3 separate regions of the Homo sapiens genome follow, and all the other regions are linked to region 2. Evidence: promoter capture Hi-C in 16 types of primary human blood cells and fetal thymus (Javierre and others, 2016). All regions are on one chromosome and are shown on one strand. Each heading gives the region's core, a stretch centred on a gene start or on the middle of the fragment in contact. The rest is flanking DNA. Distances are from core to core; before and after follow the strand shown.

Evidence for each region. The method cuts DNA at HindIII sites, captures the fragments that hold promoters and counts their contacts. A CHiCAGO score of 5 or more calls a contact.
Region 1: the fragment with the promoter of FTSJ1 here is called in contact with the fragment with the promoter of SYP-AS1 in region 2 in 1 of 17 cell types (neutrophils); the score reaches 5.8 in neutrophils.
Region 3: a contact is called between the fragment with the promoter of PORCN here and the fragment with the promoter of SYP-AS1 in region 2, in 5 of 17 cell types (activated CD4 T cells, neutrophils, total B cells and 2 more). The highest score is 9.4, in activated CD4 T cells.

What each region holds. Positions count from the first base shown.
Region 1 is chrX:48,473,804-48,477,540 of GRCh38, reverse strand. It overlaps FTSJ1 (FtsJ RNA 2'-O-methyltransferase 1), which reads right to left and starts at 1,342. Exons shown (of 13, transcript NM_012280.4): 1 at 1,145-1,342. LOC124905185 (a long non-coding RNA gene) reads left to right here and starts at 1,198. Exons shown (of 2, transcript XR_007068226.1): 1 at 1,198-1,662; 2 at 2,353-3,313. The HindIII fragment of the contact is 16,848 bases long and covers 1-3,737 here.
Region 2 is chrX:49,196,854-49,200,132 of GRCh38, reverse strand. It overlaps SYP-AS1 (SYP antisense RNA 1), which reads right to left and starts at 1,294. Exons shown (of 2, transcript NR_046649.1): 1 at 909-1,294. SYP (synaptophysin) reads left to right here. Exons shown (of 7, transcript NM_003179.3): 2 at 1,100-1,165; 3 at 2,294-2,418. RefSeq lists a silencer at 58-107. The HindIII fragment of the contact is 12,908 bases long and covers 1-3,279 here.
Region 3 is chrX:48,506,739-48,510,338 of GRCh38, reverse strand. It overlaps PORCN (porcupine O-acyltransferase), which reads right to left and starts at 1,347. Exons shown (of 15, transcript NM_203475.3): 1 at 1,236-1,347; 2 at 383-555. The coding sequence starts at 518. It overlaps PORCN-DT (PORCN divergent transcript), which reads left to right and starts at 1,500. Exons shown (of 2, transcript NR_135596.1): 1 at 1,500-1,620; 2 at 3,284-3,600. RefSeq lists a silencer at 1,121-1,520. The HindIII fragment of the contact is 7,257 bases long and covers 1-3,600 here.

The DNA.
Region 1 (3,737 bases), core at 93-2,592, 720 kb after region 2:
CCTTGTTTTCCACCTTTATCCTAATACTACTTCATTGTACCTCCCACTCCCTATATCTCTCTCGTTTCACCCCATTCGCCATTAATCCCTTAGATGATTAGGCCCCTTTATTACTACATCCTTATGAACCTCTAACAATGCCTGGAGAATCATGGTCTATTAGCTCCCCATTAAGCATTCAATTACTGATTTATCAGCCCCCATTAACTCAGTTTTCTCCAATAGACCCTTCATAGATCACAGCACTAGCCTCCTGCCCTGTAACTCTTTCATTAACAAACACGTTAACTGATCACACATCAGTTCCCCATTCTCCCCTCACTGTCCACCCTGCTCTCCATGGATCCATCACTGGATGATCACACTCCAACAGTTTACTATTCACCTACTATGTATCAACAGAAGTTAACCCCCCCAACCCTAGTTTACTATTGCCCTCTCTTTACTCACTCTGTCCCCTAATTCCTCGACGGTCATGCCACCATAGCCCAACTACTGACTCTGACTACAACACCATCAGCCTCTCATTATCTTTTCTTTCACCAAGGCCCCTTGATCATGACCTCCATCCATCTATTATTCCCCCCACAACCTCACCATCATCCTTGCCATTACGATGCCCCATCACTTTCCATTAACCCGTTGAATATCATACCTCCATCAATACCTGGGGGATCATTTTCCCATCCATCACTCGTTATATTCTAGTTGCTTACTCTGCCATCCCCTCATTAATCAATCAATGAACAACAGTTCGACTAAAATATTCTTATTAGCCCCCATTGATTCCCCAGTAACACCCCACCCTCACGCTCCACCCAACCTCCCAAAACAGCCTTCTGACCACACTCCCCGTCCCTCCTCATCAATACCTCAAAGATGATAGCTCCATCGGGACCACCGGGTACCCCTCCAGGCGGCTCCGACCGCTGCGTCCCATGTCCCCACCTCGAATCCACCCCGTCTACTGGTCCCCTTCTGCAGACAAACCTTGGGTCTAGAACCCACCCGGTGCCAGCCGCCCGAACCATACACAGCTACGGCGCCCAGGGCGGACCTCCCTCCTTTCCCCGCAGGCGGGACAGTGCAGGCGTGCCTCAATAGCCTCCGCCCGCATTCCTGTCCTCCGCGCCCCAGGGCCCACCTTAGTTTTCGGAGCAGGGTGGTCCGCGAGCAGCCTGTGCCTCGGCGAGAGCGCAAACGGGCGACAAGTCCTAGGGCTTCAGTTTGTGTTCGTAGTCCACCCGAATGCCCGGGGGGGCAAGCCTATGGGCTGTCGCAGCGTGGCAAACTCGGCATCGTGGATCGCCCAGGTTCCGGCGGGCCGGGACCTGATGTGAACGTACAACGTGAGCCCCGTCATCTATTGTCGACGTATCCGGGGCTCGCGAACTGCGTTTCCCGGCATGCAACGGGCACGGCCAAAGCGGCTGAATCCACGCACTGCGTGGCTGCAGCGACGCGACGCGCAAGTTGCCAGCGATTCTTTGTTCTTTTTCTTCCGAGGCCAAGATCGATTTGCTCCCCCGCCCCTCCCTTCTTGGACCGTGCTTGTTATTGAGCCTGTAAACTACATTTCCCAAGATGCCACGCGCAAGATGGCGCCCATTCATTTTTCGCGTGCCGGGAAGCGAAATTACCACTCGGGGCATAAACGTGACAGTAAGGAAAATGCGTTCTTGAAGTGCGCGAGCGCGCGGAGGCTGCTCGGCTGCAATTTCAGATCGCACTACAGCTAATGCATGGCGCTGCCTGAGTTTTACTGCCTCAGAACTTCAGTTTCCCTGTCTGGAAAGTGGGGATAATCAATAGTATAGACTTAACAGCATTATTGGGAGGGTTAAATAGGTGTAGCTTAGCCACTCTCTGGGCTTTTGTAATTCTGTGATCTTCAAATATTTTAAATTCCATCCCAGACACAAAAAAAGACTATACATCCTGACCCAGTGGACAAACGGAAAAATAATGAAAACGTTTATCATAGTGTTTACCATGTGCTAGGCTCTAAATGCCCTCAGTGGTGTGCTGGTAAATGGTTAACCACTGGCTGGGGCGGGGGTGGTGGCGGGGAGGGGTGGGGGGAAGGGAGGCTGGTTTCTAGCATTTACCAATTTCCATGGCTTAGGTACAATCTTCTTGTTAGATTTCAAGGTACCGACCTGTGGTCACTGAACAGGGAGTTTAAAAGAGATGCAGTAGTGCACTATCATGTATTATTTTTACCATACAGATAAAATGGGGGTAAATGACCTCAAGAGCATAGAGAATAGTGGAATGTGGTAAAATTAGGAAGTTACCAGTTTTGAGTAAGTTTATATCATTTCATTTTTAACCATAGCTGTTTAACTTTAGGGGGCTGAGGTGGAAGGATCGCTTGAGTCCAGGACTTCAAGACCAGCCTGGGCAATATGGTGAGATCCCCGTCTCTACAAATAATAAAAATAGCCGGGCGTGGTGGTGTGTGCGAGTAGTTCCAGCTACTTGGGAGGCTGAGGTGGGAGGATTGCATGAGCCTGGGAGGTCAAGGCTGCAGTGAGCCTTGATCTTGCCACTGCACTCCACTGTGGGTGACAGAGTGAGACCCTGTCTCAACAAACAAACAAAACCAGTTGTTAAACCAGCTGTTTAACAACCAGTTTGCAAAATTTCTGAAAATTGAACAGCTCCTCCCAACCTGTATAAGTTGGCTCCAGCATGTCCTTCCCTTTGTTCATTCATTTTAATCCTGGCAACATGCATATGAGTATTAGCCAGGGGCGGCGGCATGTGCCTTTAGTCCCAGCTACTCCAGAGGCTGAGGTGGGAGGATCCCTGGAGCCCAGGGGTTTGAATCTAGTCTGGGCAACATAGCGAGAACCCATGTCTCTTTAAAAAATAAAAGGGCTGGATGCAGTGGCTCACGCCTATAATCCCAGAACTTTGGGAGGGCGAGGCGGGGGGATCACTTGAGGTCAGGAGTTGGAGACCAGCCTGGCCAACATAGTGCAACCCCGTCTCTACTAAAAATACAAAAATTAGCTGGGCGTGGTGATGCGCACCTCTAGTCCCAGCTACTCAGGAGGCCAAGGTGGGAGGATCACTTGAACCTGGGAGGTGGAGGTTGCAGTGAGCCGACATCGTGCTACTGCACTCCAGCTTGGGCGACAGAGTGAGACCCTGTCTCAAGAAAAAAAAAAAAAACAGAATGATTGATTCCTTAGCACACGAGCTTCACCAGGCAGGGATTCCTGTTCTGTCATGTTCACTGCTGCCTCCCAGTGCCTGGAACAGGGGTGGCGCACAGTTGGTGTTCAATAAATGTTGGTTGAATTCATCCTTTTGTTGCTTCGTTCCTTAATTTTTTCCCCAGTGGTGCGTCCTGCATTTCTATGGAGCCCTGGGTGGAGGCGTAGAGACTCTGAGAACCAGGGAAGAAGCCAGAGCTTTGTCAGCAGAACTCAAGGGCATTGTGGGACTGTGGGAACATGACTCCCCTGCAGAGGCGAGCGAGTGTGAGAAAGGAAGGGTTCGAGCCACCAGGCCTCCGCTCCACAAGAGAGGAGGGGGTGCCAGGCATTGGGGGCCCATGTTCACCCTGTGGGACGCTTCCCACGTCCTGTTTTCTTGTCGCTCACGAAGAGGATGTTTAACTTTTAGCAAAGAAACTTGCTTCCTCCAGCAGGACCGGGGGTTTGGGGGACAGGAGCCAGGCTCTGAACTCTCCAGGCTCTTCCCGAAGTAGGGTGTCGGCCTGCAGC
Region 2 (3,279 bases), core at 45-2,544:
TGGACAGAGCCCGCCGCCGCCCGGCTGCCTAGGCCGGGTCGCTCAGGCCAGCCGACTCTGGGAGGTGGTGGCCAGGGTCTGGCAGCGGAGACCCGGTCCCCGGCGCTGGGGATGGGGGTCTGCGGCAGGTGAAGGGGAGGAAGGGGGAGGTGGAGAAAAGGAGTGCGCTCTTTGCCGCAGCGAGGGCCGTCCTCACTGCCGCAGCGGGGGCCCCCGGAGCCCCGTTTATTACTGGCGACCGCGAGGGGAGGAATAGGGGCCTGGGGGCTGGAGTGAGGGCAAGGGACAAGGGGAGGGGAGAGTGGAAGGAAGATGGGGGGTGCTGCGGATAAGCTAGGAAATAGAGCGACAGAAGGTGTGGGGGCGGGGATGGGGGAGAGGGCTGGCACCCGCCCCTCCCAAACAGAGACTGTACCCCCATAGGCGACCACCCCTTCCCCCAGAGCACACCTAGGGGACAATCCGGTTTTACTCCTTCCAAAACCCCCAGCCTCCTCACCCCCAACACATAGCGACTGAAGCCGTGTCCCAGCCCTCCCCCACCTTAATCAGTCCAGACCCTCTCCGCCATGTCTCTCGTCTTTGCCACCTCAGAAACTCACCCCCAATCAGTCCCAACCCTTCCCCATCCCCATCACCTCAAATATCTACCGCCACCGCCGTCTAACACACCTTTACCCCTGCAGACCCTTCCCCCACCTGAGCCAAACCGACTCCTGCCCCGTTATGACTCACCTTCACCATCACAACCCCCCCACCCGAATGCACCCCACTCCATCCCCATTCTCTACCCGAACCCCTTCCCCATCCGACTCGCCTTTACGTTTCAAACCTGCTCCCCCTCCTTAACTAGTCCTGACCTCATCCCCATCTCCCTCACCCCCGACTTCCTCTGCCATCTGACTCACCATCTCTTCAGACCTTCCCACCAGTCCTTGGACCCTGGGGCTCACACCATCCCCAAGGTGTCACTTTCTCCTTCTCACCCTCTCCCCGAGGTCACATGCTCCATCCCCTGGGGTCATTGATGGGCAGCCTTGCCGCTCACCTCCCTGTACCTCCAACAACCCCACCCCTTCCCCACTGTTTCTCTCCTCAGCTGGTGGCTGGGGGTCAGTTCCGGGTGGTCAAGGAGCCCCTCGGCTTTGTGAAGGTGCTGCAATGGGTGAGTGTGGTCCGGGCTGTTGGGGCAGAGTGCAGGGAGAGAGGGAGGTCATGGGGTCCAGAAGAGCAGGGGTGGAGTAGGGGCGAGTAGCCAGGGATGAGTGCGGGGGTTGTAGGGGATGGGGGAATTGGGCTCCAGGGTGAGGTTTCAGGGGTCTGAAGCCAGAAAACAGATGAGCTGTGACGTCACATAGGGCTGAGGGTACCCCCGTTGTGAAGTGGGAGACTGTGACGTCCTACCTCCTCTCTTGAAGTGAGGGAGGGGTGGGGGAGGTGGAGCCTGTAGCAGATGCTGGGTGAGAGATGCAAAGTCAGAGAAACCCAGAGACAGTGAAGGTGACAGAGAGAATGAGGGACAGGGAATGATAAAGACAGAGATGGAAATACTGAGAAAAAAAAAAGAAATATGGAGATGAGAAGAGATACAGACATAAGAGAGAAGAGACAAACAGAAACAAAGAAAAAGGAGACACAGAAAACAGATGCAAAGAGAAACAGACGCAGGGAGAGAGGCAGGAAAACAGGGTGAGGGAGAGAGAGACACAGAGAGAAAGAGACACTCAGAAAAAAGAGAAACCAACACACAGAGGCAAGAGGGAGACAGAGAGAGAACCATCCGGAGACCGAGTGAGAGACAGGACAGAGAGACAGAGACAAACAGACCAAGAAACAGAAAGACACAGACATACAGGCATACACTTACACAGACAGAGAAAAAAGAGACAAAAAGAGACATCGACAGATCAGATAGGCAGAGGCAGAGAGGATCAGAGACACAGAGAGACAAAGAGACATCTGAGAAAGACAAAGACACATAGAGAAACAGAGATACCGAGAGAAACAGAGACACAGTGAGATACACAGAGAACAACAGAGACAAACAGAGAAGAGGGAGGTCAGCATGGAAAGGCAGAGACAGAGAGAGACACAGAGAGAGAAACAGGAAGAGACAGCCATACCCTTGTAATCAGCTTGTCCTTGGTCCCGATGAGCCCTGATTAGGGGGTGGGGGTGGGGACTGCTCCATCTGCTGCTGCCTGTGCTGGGCCCCCGATCTGTCCAGAGGAGGGCACCTCCCTCCCACATGCACACAGGTTCACTGTGGCCATCCCCATCCCTGCTGCCCAAGGTCTTCGCCATCTTCGCCTTTGCCACATGCGGCAGCTACAGTGGGGAGCTCCAGCTGAGCGTGGATTGTGCCAACAAGACCGAGAGTGACCTCAGCATCGAGGTCGAGTTCGAGTACCCCTTCAGGTGTGCTCCCACCCTGGGATACCAACAGACCTGGGAGAGGAAGGGGCAGGGTGGAACCGGCCAATACCTCCCCCCGCAAGTAGCTCCTGCCCAGCTCCCACCTCGAGGCTACATCCACTGGGATCACTGAGCACCTGCCTTGTACCTGGCACTGCTCTGGACTCTAGGACTATGTGGTGAGCAAGGCAGACATAGGCTGTGGCCCTCTGGCTCTGTTCCAGCGAAGGGGTAAGGGACAGGCAATAAACAAGATACAAAAGTAAGACAGGTGTATATACATACCTTAACCCAGTAGGTACCCAATTAATGTTAGCCAATATTATTATTTAATCCCCATTCATTCATTCTATACACATTTTTGAGAACTTATTTTATATCTGGTACTACTCAAAGTGCTGGAAGCATGATAGTAACTAAAACAGACCCAACTCCCGCCAGGCACAGTGGCTCACGCCTGTAATCCCAGCACTTTGAGAGGCCGAGGTGGGCGGATCACCTGAGGTCAGGAGTTCGAGACCAGCCTGACCAACATGGAGAAACCCCGTCTCTACTAAAAATACAAAATTAGCCAGGCGTGGTCATGCATGCCTGTAATCCCGGCTACTCAGGAGGCTGAGGCAGGAGAATCACTTGAACCTGGGAGCCGAAATCGCGCCATTGCACTCCAGCCTGGGCAACAAGAGCGAAACTCCATCTCCAAAAAAAAAAAAACCAGACCCAACTCCCTACCTTCATGGAGCCTACATTATAACAAATAAATTAACAAAGAGGATAATAGCAGACTGAGAGAAACTCGAGGAGATCCTCATGTAGGGTTTTATGGTAGAGAATAGAATAATGAGGGGTGCTGCTTAGATATAG
Region 3 (3,600 bases), core at 98-2,597, 690 kb after region 2:
CATGGTACTTTGGGATTCCATAACCCTGTGACATCAGCATGCCAATGTCTTATAACCTTGGGATGTAGACATTTCAGAATCCCAAGATCCAAGAATCTCAGCTTTCTGGAATCCCAGAACTCAGGAATACTGAAGGGCATGGCTTGGCATGGCAGGATGTGGCTCGGTGTGGCATGGCATGGGGTGGCTGGCATAGTAGGATGTGGTATGGTGGAATGGGGTTTGGCCTGGTGGGATGTGGTGGGGCTGAACATGTTGGGGTCCAGCTTGGACATGCTAGGGCCTGGCAGGATGTGACAGGGTAAGGTGTGGCTCGATATGGATGAATGTGGGAGGTCTGATATGGCCTGGCATGGTGGCACACGGTATGGCAGGCACTTACCGAGCCTCCAGAGGAGGCGGCAGGCGAGGCAGATGGCAAGGAGCAGCCAGATCTGGTCAAGGCCCTGCTGGGCAGTAGGCAGGAGACAGCCTTGCAGTAGCTGCTGGAAAAATTCCTGGCGGCTAAAGGTGGCCATTGCAGACCCCCACGGATGGATGGCCAGATGGATAGATCTGTCAAAGCAGGGACACAGAGGGAGCGGGTGTCCGTGGGGCAGACCTCGCTTAAAGGATGCACTCTGGCACTCACATTTCAGTTTGGGGCTGCCCAGCCCATGTAGAGGCACGGTACTGGAGGACTGGGGGAAGGCGTGAGAAGTCAGGTACATCAGACTGAGCCACCAACTGTGTGCATGTGGGTGTTCGGCATGCACACGCACAGCCTGTGACCTGGAGTGAATGAAGGACCTCTGTCTCTCCAGTGCTGTGAACAGTCCAGTCCGATGGTGATGGGATGGCATACATTTCAGGCCCATATATCAAATGGGGCGGGCGACGGGAAGGGGAATCCCTGGTTTCCAAGGTAGAGTCGCTCTGAGTGGAGGGCAGAGAGGGGGATTCTGTGACACTTGGGGGCCGTGTGCATCTCTCCTTGTATGGATGCGGCGGCACGGGGAGGGGGGGTGTCCTGTATCCTCCGCGCCCCCCATCTCATCCCCACCCGGCGAGAGGCCGCCAACAAAGTCCTGCCCAGGTCCGGGGGCTGCAAGGAGGTGGTGGTAGGAGACATAGCCTGAGGGAGAGTCGGAAAGGTGATGGGGAGGGGGTCCTAGCACTCGCGCTACAGATCCGCCTGGGGAGGCCGGCCCAGGGATGGGAGCTGGGGAGCCGCGTGCGCACTACTGGCGACCTACCTGGCAGGAAAGAAGCCGTGGTCCTGGGGACCGAGGACGCGCTGCCGCCGCCGCTGCCTCCTCCGGGCAGCCTCCCCCGCAGGCCGCAAGGCCGGGACCAGCAGCGGCTCCCAGAGCGGCGCGGCGAGCGGGCCCTTTAAATCCCGGGGCGGCCCGGCCGCCGGCTCGGCCAATGGGAGAGCAGGAGGGGGGCGGGGACGGGGACGCGGAGGAGGGGAGCAGGAGGATTGAGGGGAGACCGGCGCGGGGGGACGTCGGCGCGCAGGACGTTCACGCCCGCACCTTTCCGGCCTGTGGCGGTTTCAGCCCCAGACCGTCTGCCTCCGGAGGATTTCTGGCCATCCAAGAACAAACTTCCGAATCTCCAAATTTCCAAGCCTTGGAAGTGAGAAGGGAAAGATGGGGGAGGGAGGAGGGAAGCCGCTGCACCCCCAAATAGTCACCCGCGCACGTCCTCTAAATACCGTGGTGTCCCCGTTTCACAGATGGGAAAACAAACCGAGATCTCTCCTTCCCCAACCTTTGAGAGAACCGAAGTAACTCCCAACCCTCCCACCTCCTGGGACCGGCCAGGAACATTTATAAGTAATGACTGTGTCACCTAGGAACACAAATTAGGCGCCTGTGCTTCCCCTGGGGACGAGCTGTGAGCACTTGGCGTGTCGTCGTTGAGAAGTGATTTGCATGCTTAATTCCCCAGCAGACTCTTTGCTTCGAAGGTGACCCCAGCGACTAGTAAATGTTCTCTGTGAACTAGAGGGAGGCTAGTACCGAGCACTTAAAAGGGGGGCATTTATAAAGCTCTTAAGGGCCAGGCTCGGTGGCTCACGCCTATAAACCCAGCACTTCGGGAGGCCAAGGGTAGGAGGATAGCTTGAGGTCAGGAGTTCGAGACCAGCCTGGCCAACATGGCGAAACCCCGTCTCTACTAAAAATACAAAAATTAGCCAGGCGTGGTGGCGCACGCTTGTAATCCCAGCTACTCGGGAGGTTAAAGCAGGAGAATCAGGAGGCAGAGGTTGCAGTGAGCCAAGATCGCGTCATTGTGGGCTACAAGAGCGAAACTCCGTCTCAAAATAAATAAATAAAGACTGGGCGTGGTGGCTCACACCTGTAACCCAGCACTTTGGAAGGCCGAGGCGGATGGATCACCTGAGGTCATGAGTTTGAGACCAGGCTGGCCAATATGGCGAAACCCTGTCTCTACTAAAAATACAAAAAATTTAGCTGGGCGCCTGTAATCCCAGCTACTCCGGAGGCTGAGGCAGGAGAATCACTTGAGCCCAGGAGACGGAGGTTGCAGTGAGCCGAGATCACGCCATTGCACTCCAGCCTGGGTGACAAGAGCAAAACTCCTTCTCCAAAATAAATAAATAAATAAACAAGAGCGAAACTCCTTCTCTAAATAAATAAATAAATAAAATAAAAAAGAAAGCGCTTACACTGGCCCCATCCGCACCTCTATCTGCACCAACACTAAAGATTTATGTAGCACCCGCCTTCTACCTACCCTACTGCTGCAGTTTCTAGGCATTCCCCTTTGTACCTAGGCTGATGAAGGGCCTATTTTTCCAAAAGAGCACTTACTGGGCGCTTACTGCACTACATGCTTAGCTGTGACGTGGAAGGGAGAAGGAAGCCCAGGTCAAACTGGACGCCACCCTGACCTGGGCAGCCAACTGAAACAGATTTTAATCAGATTAACAATGGCCTGTATGGAGCTGGGCAAGTCATGTTCACTCACCCGTCTCCATTGTCCTTTTCTGTTAAACAAAAGAGTGGGCTTGGCAGGTTTTTGCTGGGAAACACCAATGGTAATTGAAGAGAAATGTATATTTTCTCTCTATTTTAACATGAAGTTAAATGGAGTTCTAGCTCATAAATTAGTATTCATGTATTACAAACAAAAAACATTTAATACGGTAAGAATATGTATATATAAGGAATAATAGCTTAGACCAGATGCACAAATATCAATTCTTTTCCTTAACAGCAGAATACAGGACATACATTTTATGAATTAAATTTCATTTTAATTTTTTTCTCAGTTGTCAAACCCACTCAAGTTGAGTCAACAATGACCCACAGCACCTACCAGAAATACTTCCCTCAATTGCAAGACTTGGCATTTAAAACTGGAAGATTCTTACCACATGTGCTCCTGGGCTTTGCGGACTTGATTGTTTCCATCTAGGCTTTTGACCTGTGTCACAAAGAAGTAGGATCTAGGTTTTAGGATATATAACGAACATCTACAAATCCGAAGAGGACAAACAATACACTTGGCAATAGACATTGGGTACAAATAGGTAATTCACAGCAGAAGAAACCTAAAATGGTCAATATGTATAATATATGAAAAGAT